2 separate regions of the Homo sapiens genome follow, and region 1 is linked to region 2. Evidence: promoter capture Hi-C in human tissues and cell types (Jung and others, 2019). All regions are on one chromosome and are shown on one strand. The core of a region is centred on a gene start or on the middle of the fragment in contact, and the rest is flanking DNA. Distances in the headings are between cores, read along the strand shown.

Region 1 (4,151 bases), core at 901-3,400, 280 kb after region 2:
ATTCCAAAGTTTTGTGATTTGAATTTTCATAAATCATATTTTAACCAAAGCATTACTACTTAAAGGAATCTTAGGGTGAACCCTATGAATCCTTCAGTGCGCTTGGATTTTGATATTTGGGGTCCATTTAAAATGGAGTACCTGTATGTATTTGGATTCAGCTTTAACTTGGAGATAATCCCGAGTCATGCTTTAAAGAAGTTCCTTCTGAGATCAGGAGCTCAGGTGTTTGGTGAACTCTGGGAAAACTAGACACTCCCCTTTACCTGTATATAGTTCTCCCTTCTGGAGCTCTGGGAAAAGGAGGACCTGGGGAGATTTGAAGCAAATTAAGAGGCTGCCTCCTCCATATTTGCCGTCTCCAGGCCAATGCTCTAAATTACTTGTGTTCACACTCAAGTTTCTCATGTTAACCTAGAAATTTTGTTTATGCTGCTGCCACTAATGTTTTCACATTTGTCTAATACTTGCTAGTTTACAGATGGTTTTATATTCATGATCTCCCTTATTTTCTCCATTTCCCCAAAGAAGAAGCTGGGCATAAAGAGTGATTTTCTCAGGGTCTCATAATCAGTAACGGAGCAGAATTCAACTACAGGACCTCCCTGGGAACCTGTTCTCTTTCCTTGTCCTGATGTGTTACTCTTATAGGCCAATTTTTGCCTTTGTGTTGTGCCTAAATGGTGTAATTACCCCGTTTTGGGAAGGTGGTATTATCCCGTTTTATCTTGCGGAAACTGAGGGTTAAGAGGAATGTTATGATTTTGTGACTATTTGTGACAGCTTTTTAATATTAGGTCACTTTTAAACCTATAGCTTCTCTCTTCTAGACCACATGGTTGAGAAAGGAGAAAGAGAAAATGATTACTTGTAGAGAAAAATCCATTTCTGCAGTGGTATGGTTAAGGATAATCTAACCATAATCACATTATCCTTGTATGCCTGGCTACTTATGCTGGCCTGTATGTGAATGTTAACCCCAAAGACTCCTTTAGATGTCGCTGAACTAGTTACTATAAAAAGTATTTCGCTTTCAAACTCCCACATTTCAAGAAGAGCAAAACTCAATACAAGGCAATTTTGAAGGTAAGTATAGAAAGAGGGAGTTTATTGAGTCTTTTCTGACTACCAGACACGAAGGTTTCAGTAAAAAAGCATTTTTAAAGGGCTGCCTGGAAACTCTGGGAAGTCAGTAGTTGGAGTTTTTTATTATTCGTTGGAGGTTTTTATTGCAACATATAGGTAGTTATATAGGATTAGGACTTTTGCCCCGGAGAATTCTTAATCTATAGCAGGAATGATAAACCCAGAATATTTTTGTTAAGTTAGTTCATCATAACCATTAGGCCTGTAATTGCAATTCTGCAGTGATAGGGAGAATGGCATTTAAGGGTTCTTAGGTTATTTTTTTAAGTTATTAACTTACTGAATTATGTATGCATTTCTTCAGATATGCTACTTTAGAAAATTAATACTTCCTTTTAAGGTTTCTATAAATTCTTCAGTATGTGTTTTCTTAAGCTTAATTACCTGCTAACATGACACTGTCAGAATTTATACATTAGTCACAATAACCTTTGAAGCTTAAACATGGTTGAATTTTCAGCACTGCTTTATATTCTTTGGGGAGTGGGCAGTGTTGTTTTCACAAGAATTTTATTTGCATCAAAGGTTACATCTTTTCAGGTGAACTGATTTTTCAGGGTCAGAGGCTTCTTTGAATTTTATAGCTGTTTGTGCTCGGTTGCATTTGCTGTCTTTCAAAACCATCTTTAGTTTTAGTAAGGAAAGTCACTATAAAGGAAAAATTTTTTATTGTTACCATTCCTGGTAGATTTTCTGAAATATTAGATATTTCTTTGCTTTCATCAAGTAAAATAGGCCTATTTGATACCCATTTCAAGATCTTCCTTCTGCTGCCTGTCTTGTGGTCATTTAACTTCTCATTAAGCCCTCCACTGGAGACTGTGCCAGAAGGGAGAGAAGATGAAAAGCAAATGAATCATTTTCTAATTGTTAGTAGCTCTGGAAAATGATTCAGTAGAAGAGATTGAAACTATTCTGGAAATTCTTTGGGATTGTATTTCATTCATCTGCATCGTTTCAGAGATGTTCCTAATGGTCGTCAATTCAGAATTCAGAAGCCGATCATTATCCAGCTATTGGATAACAGGGAATTTTTCATGCTTTTTTTTTGTTTGTTTGTTTCTTGCTGTATTTAAGCATCTCCACAGAAGATATTTAGAAGCAGGTAGAGATAAAATTTAAACTAATCAATACTGTTTTTTCCCTTTGAACTCTTTAATGCACAATTTGATTTCTTTAGACAGTTTACTCATTGTTATTGGAAGTGACTAATAGTAACTTTGCTTCAATTTATTTTGATGTATCTTATACACAAGTATAGGAAGGCTTTTGGGTGGTTTTTAAGAAACATGGGCTGTAGATTCCCATAATTGCTTTCCTGAATTATTAAGCGTGAGCTTTCATTACATCTTTGTACCGGAACTTTTGCTTTTGCTGTGGAACAGATTCAGGGACATCGTCTAATTTTTTTTTTTTTTTTTTTAGATAACTGCTCAAGAAGTTACCTTGTTTTGATTTAGCAGTAAAAAAGAAAAAAAGGGTTAATAGTGGACAGACTTTTCGTTAACGGCTGCAACATTGATGTCTGCTTTTTTCCTTGTCTTTGATCTTCTGTTTCTCATTTAATCATTTGGATATTCACGGATTGGAGTTCTTTATGTCACTACAGACAGGACAGCAACCGTTATTCACACTAGTTGAATGGGTTCCTGCCTTTTTTTGGTGGGGGGGCCTCAGGAGAATTTTTACAAACCCATTATGACTGTTTAGTTAGGCTGAGTTACTGTAAAATTTGTAAATAAAACCCTACTGGATGGATAGGGTTAATAGATGGCTATAGAGAGTTTAAAGTTAAGCTTTTTCAATTTCTTGTCTCTTGGATTCTGTTCTTTCAATTTCTACCCTAGGAGGGGATTTATGGAAAAATCTAGACTAAGAGTCAGAACATGCAAGTTCTTATCTAGTTACTTCCCAGCTGTGGCGCCCTCAGCTAGTCACTTAATCTGCCTTGTTTCTCTGTTTTGCATCTTTAAGATGAGGATAGTAATCCCTGCTCGGCCTACTGGTATCAGGAATGTTGTAGGGGGAAAAAAAGTCTTTCATGCCCCTGTCTATTAAATTGTTTCTTCCTTCTAGAATCCCTTCTCAGGTTGTCCGAATTTTCTTTCAAGGATTCAACTGAATGGGCTCTTCCCAGAAGTCCTCTATTTCCCATTTGAAATCTTGCTTTTCCCCTCTCACGGGCCTCTGCTGGTCCATCTGTTATACAGCACTTTGAATTCTGTTCTGTACTTCAGTCATTGCATGTTGCCTTCCATTATAGATGGAAAGCTCCATGAGGGCAAAGATTGTCTTTTTCCTCTTTCTGTGTGTCCGCATTGCACATAGGCACCCCCTCCACTCCATAGGTGACCCACAATAATTGTTGGCTGAATGAATGATTATTGAGGCTGTCAGAATGAATACTTTGGGTGATGGGAAAATGCCAAAGATGAGCATCTTACCAGAACTTTTGGATGAGTGGCCTTTTAAATTGCTCAGTTACTAATCTGTTGTTATCAGTAACTGAATCAGATCCTGGCAAGACAAATTGGCAAAGCCCATTTCTTGGTCCTGTTTACTTCGGATACTATTTGTGAAGCAAGTCAGAGGAATGAAAGACTGTCATAACAGTCTTGAATTTGACATTTGTTCCATTTCTCACCCCATAGCATGTGGAGGCCTGTCTATATCCAACTGCTGAGTGTAAAGAATAAAAACTGACTGCCCCATAGTCTGGTCCACATTTTAGTTGTGTGCTTTGAAGGATTTGCAAGGTAGAGAAATAGATGCTTCAGGCTCTGATTTCAGCCCATGCTGTGCTATGCAAATGTTCTCTACATGCCTGAGTGACCTTTTGAGAAAGAGCCTTTGTGATCTTCTGTAGCTAGGGCTTGTTCTGGGAATTCTGTGCCAGATTCCTCTAAAAGTGGGAAAAGTGAATCTGTTAAAGGACCACGTAAAAAAGCCAGTGCTTTTCCTGGATGAATACCAATAAGTCCATGTTTCTTACCATGTCTTGCCAG
Region 2 (3,810 bases), core at 724-3,223:
GGAGGCCAAGATGGGCAGATCACCTGAGGTCAGGAGTTCGAGACCAGCCTGGCCAACATGGTGAAACCCGCCTCTACTAAAAATACAAAAATTAGCACCTATAGGAGGTGCTTGGTCAATGGGCGCTAGGGATAATCCTATTCTGAATGCCTGGCATTCTCGGGTGACTGTGAGTGCCCTGTAGGGTAGCTCTTGCAGTGTTTTGGGGATGGCCTCTTGGTAGGATGGGGAGGGTGAGGCAGCCTTGACAAGGACTTCGGACATGCTCTGCAGGACACAGCTGCTCAGGGGAGATGCAGAGTTCAAGCCCCCATGATGGACTCACCAAGGAACAAAAAGACAGCCGGGTTTCATCAGTGAGGAAGGAGATGGGAACTCAGTGGCTACCCAGGCTCCACGGGCCATGTGTGAAGTGGGGAAAATCATTGCCTTGCATGTCAGGGTTTCCCATTGAACAATCTTGTCATGGCTCCCACAGGCTTGGCATTGCTATCCTGGCTAAACAACACCATCTAGAAGGCCTTGGTTACCTCCCAAAGGGCAGGGCCACCTGGGTCTGAGAGGCTCGTCCAAGGAAGAACAGAGCCTGCCAGTCCTCACTCCAATCCTCCTTCCCAGTGACAGCAACAGCAGCGGCTCTGGCTCATGAATACCCACCTTGCTGCAGGCTCTGCTGGGTGCCTCAGGCACCCTGAGTTCTCTTCACCAGCCAGTGCTACAGGTGGTATTTGGATGTGGTCGCCATTTTACTAGGGGAGCTGGTGGTTCAGGGAGGGGCAGGGCCTCCCAAGCTCACAAGTCTGGTAGGTGGAATCTGGACCCAGGGCTCCTGGCCCCCCTACCACACCATGGTGTCTCAGGTTTCCTAAGGTAATAAGTACCTTTCCAGAGTCCTGGGAAAGGGTTAAGTTGCCAGCATCAAAAATTAATTAACCTGTAGGATAAAGGGAGTCAATTGACTCCAGAGAAAGCAAGCAGTGTCCCCGGACATTGGGTATATCACCCAAGGAAAGCGTAAGCGAAAGTGGAAGGAGTGGGGAAGTAGAGGAGAGGGAGAGAGGAAGGAAGGAGGAGAAGAAGAAAGAAAGACAAAGAGAGGGAGGGATGATGAGGATGGGAGAGAGAAGGAAGGAAGGAAAAAAGTAAGGAAGGGAAAGGAAGAAAGAAACAAAGAAAAAGAGAAAGGAAGAAGAAAGAAAAGACAGAAAGAAGAAAGAAAAAGGAAGAAAGAAAAAGGAAGAAAGAAAAAGAAAGAAAGAAAGAGAGAAAGAAAGAAAAGAAAGAAAGAAGAAAAGGAAAGAGAGAGAAAGGAGCTGGGCTTTGCTGGTGAAAAGGAGTAGCTGTATAAGGTTACTTCATCTTTCTTTGTTCATCACCTCTACATGGGGAGTAATAGTCCCTCTTCATAAAGATTATGAAGTGAAACCATGTGCTTATAGTGCCTGATACAGGCATTCAATAAATAGCAATAAAAATCATAATGGCTAACCCTTATCTGGAACGTATAATGAGCCAGATACTACATTAAGAGCTTTCCATTTGCCAACTCCTGTAGTCCCCCCAGCAACCCTGGAGGGAACCATTGTTATCACCCCTGTTTTAAGATGACGGCAGGAGGTACAGAGAGTTGAAGTGGTTATTGTTCCAAGCCAGCTTCTACATTCCCCCTAAGGGCCAACTTTAAGTTCCTTGAGTCTCTTAAAGTCTGCAGACAGGAGAGAGGGTGTGAGGGGTGTCTGGGATCCTCCTCCCAGGAAAGGGGCTCACCTTCACAATGACATCCATGGCATTCTTGTCTTCCTGCTTGCTTTCCCCAAAGGACCTGACGTTGAAGGAGCAGATCCTCATGGCCAGGGCGCTGTGGATGGAGAGGAGGAGAAGCAGCAGTGGGGCCAGCTCCCGTGACATCCTGGCGCTGCTCTGGCTTCAAGACTCTGTGAGAAGACAGCAGTGCTTGGAGTGCTGGATTCTGGCCACTTCCGCAGGCTCCACTGACTTATAAAGCCTGCAGATAACAGGAATTACTGGATTTCTCCTTGCAACTTTCAGTTCTCTGAGGAACTGAAGATCATGGGTTTTAATCCCCAAGGAAATACAGATACATTGGGCTAGCCTTTAAGGAGCCCTTATGTTCGTCACCCTGGTGCAGAAATTGGCATGCCTCATTTAGGCGCCATCCTCCACAAAGTCACTCATATCCCAACCGGGAGCCAGCTCTGACATCTAGTCATCGGTCTTGCGGTTGCATGCCATGTGCCTTTTCCTGACAGTGGATGAACTCGGAAGTGGTCCACCCTAGAGGGCACCTGGGGTGACGGAACCTTCTGCTGGGGGACAATGAGGCAGGAGGCATGGGAAATTCTGCTCGGTTTTCTCTAAATCACTGGGATTTGGCGGCCTGCTGTCCTCAGACACACCCAGACTGTGACTCTAATTGCCCTGGTGGTGTAAAGTAAGGTCAAGAGTAGTTTGAATTACTTAATTTTTTTAGGCAGCTTTACCGTACAAATACTAGGAGTGTGTTGCCAGAGAAAGCAATTGGGGATCTGATGGAATGGATGAGGAAAATGTCCCTGGACTCTGCGAGCAAATAGCCCGTGAAACCCATGGAGAGACCCGTGATTGAAGCTGATATTAATTTAATATTGGCGAGAGTTGTGTGACCCTGGGAGAGAAAGGTCTTGTAAGAACTGTAGGATATCAACTCAAGCAAAATGACTTTTAGAGATATGGGCAGGAAACTATGAAGATCTGTAAAGCAAAAAAAAATTAAAAAAAAAAGCAAAATCCAATCAAGGTATATTAATGGACTTTGGCAAAGACAATTCTGTGAAAAGGGTAGGGAATAAGAATAACTCCAAGCCAGCATCGGGATCTGTGGACCAACCCCTCTTGTGGTGATGGGTCTGTGGCCACAGCCACAGGGAAAATTATACATATATCCCCAACATACATCCAGGCAGCATACTGGCCAAGCATGCCAGGAATTCTATAAGATAACCCCAAATAGTACATGGAAGGAAATGGTTTCCTGAGTTCGTGCTGCAATGAATCTCCCTGTTGTCTGCAACCTAAGACCTCAGGCCTGGTTGAATCTCTGGTAAAGGTGGCTCTGGGCCGGGCGCAGTGGCTCACTCCTGTAGCCCCAGCACTTTGGGAGGCTGAGGTGGGTGGATCACTTGAGGTCAGGAGTTCAAGGCCAGCCTGGCCAACATGGTGAAACCCTGTCTCTACTAAAAATACAAAAATTAGCCAGGCGTGGTGGTGGGCGCCTATAATCCCAGCTACTTGGGAGGCTGAGGCAGGAGAATGGCTTGAACTTGGGAGGCAGAGGCTGCAGTGAGCCAAGATTGCACCACTGCACTCCAGCCTGGGCAACAGAGTGAGATTCCATCTCAATAAAATACAAAAACAAAAAAAAAGGAGCTCTAGGGAATGGTTAATTGTCTTTCTTGGTGAATGGGCATCTTCCAACCAGAAAAAAGATTTAGAATTAAAGTGTAGAAATGTTTAAGAGACTCAGAGCCATGGTATACTCTTTTTGTGTGTTTTAAGATGGAATATGCGGTATTTCATGGACTTAATGAGAGCTGCTGGGCCAACTATATAGAAAATCTTGTAACTCTCTTATAAAATGTGCACTTGGTAGGGTTTGATTCAGGTTCATGACTTTACGTTGAAACCTTTGTCTGAATACAGTTCTGGAACATTTATAAACACTTTAGGTTATCATCAATGTTTTGTTTGTTTACTTTATTAGAATTCAAATGATTTAGTATTTTTTAAAAGTAGCTTTTTTGTTAGTTCAGA

The links. Contacts are between HindIII fragments. The study calls those that stand out against the background at their distance.
Region 1: a fragment that was not itself captured here is called in contact with the fragment with the promoter of DNASE1L3 in region 2 in 2 of the 25 tissues and cell types used here (H1 embryonic stem cells and liver).

The regions. Positions count from the first base shown.
Region 1 is chr3:58,493,323-58,497,473 of GRCh38, forward strand. The region is part of intron 1 of KCTD6 (potassium channel tetramerization domain containing 6); the gene reads left to right. Among named protein-coding and RNA genes, the nearest start is that of KCTD6, 3.3 kb to the left of the region's middle. The HindIII fragment of the contact is 5,212 bases long and covers 1-4,151 here.
Region 2 is chr3:58,208,999-58,212,808 of GRCh38, forward strand. It overlaps DNASE1L3 (deoxyribonuclease 1L3), which reads right to left and starts at 1,974. Exons shown (of 8, transcript NM_004944.4): 1 at 1,768-1,974. The coding sequence starts at 1,908. The HindIII fragment of the contact is 9,412 bases long and covers 1,023-3,810 here.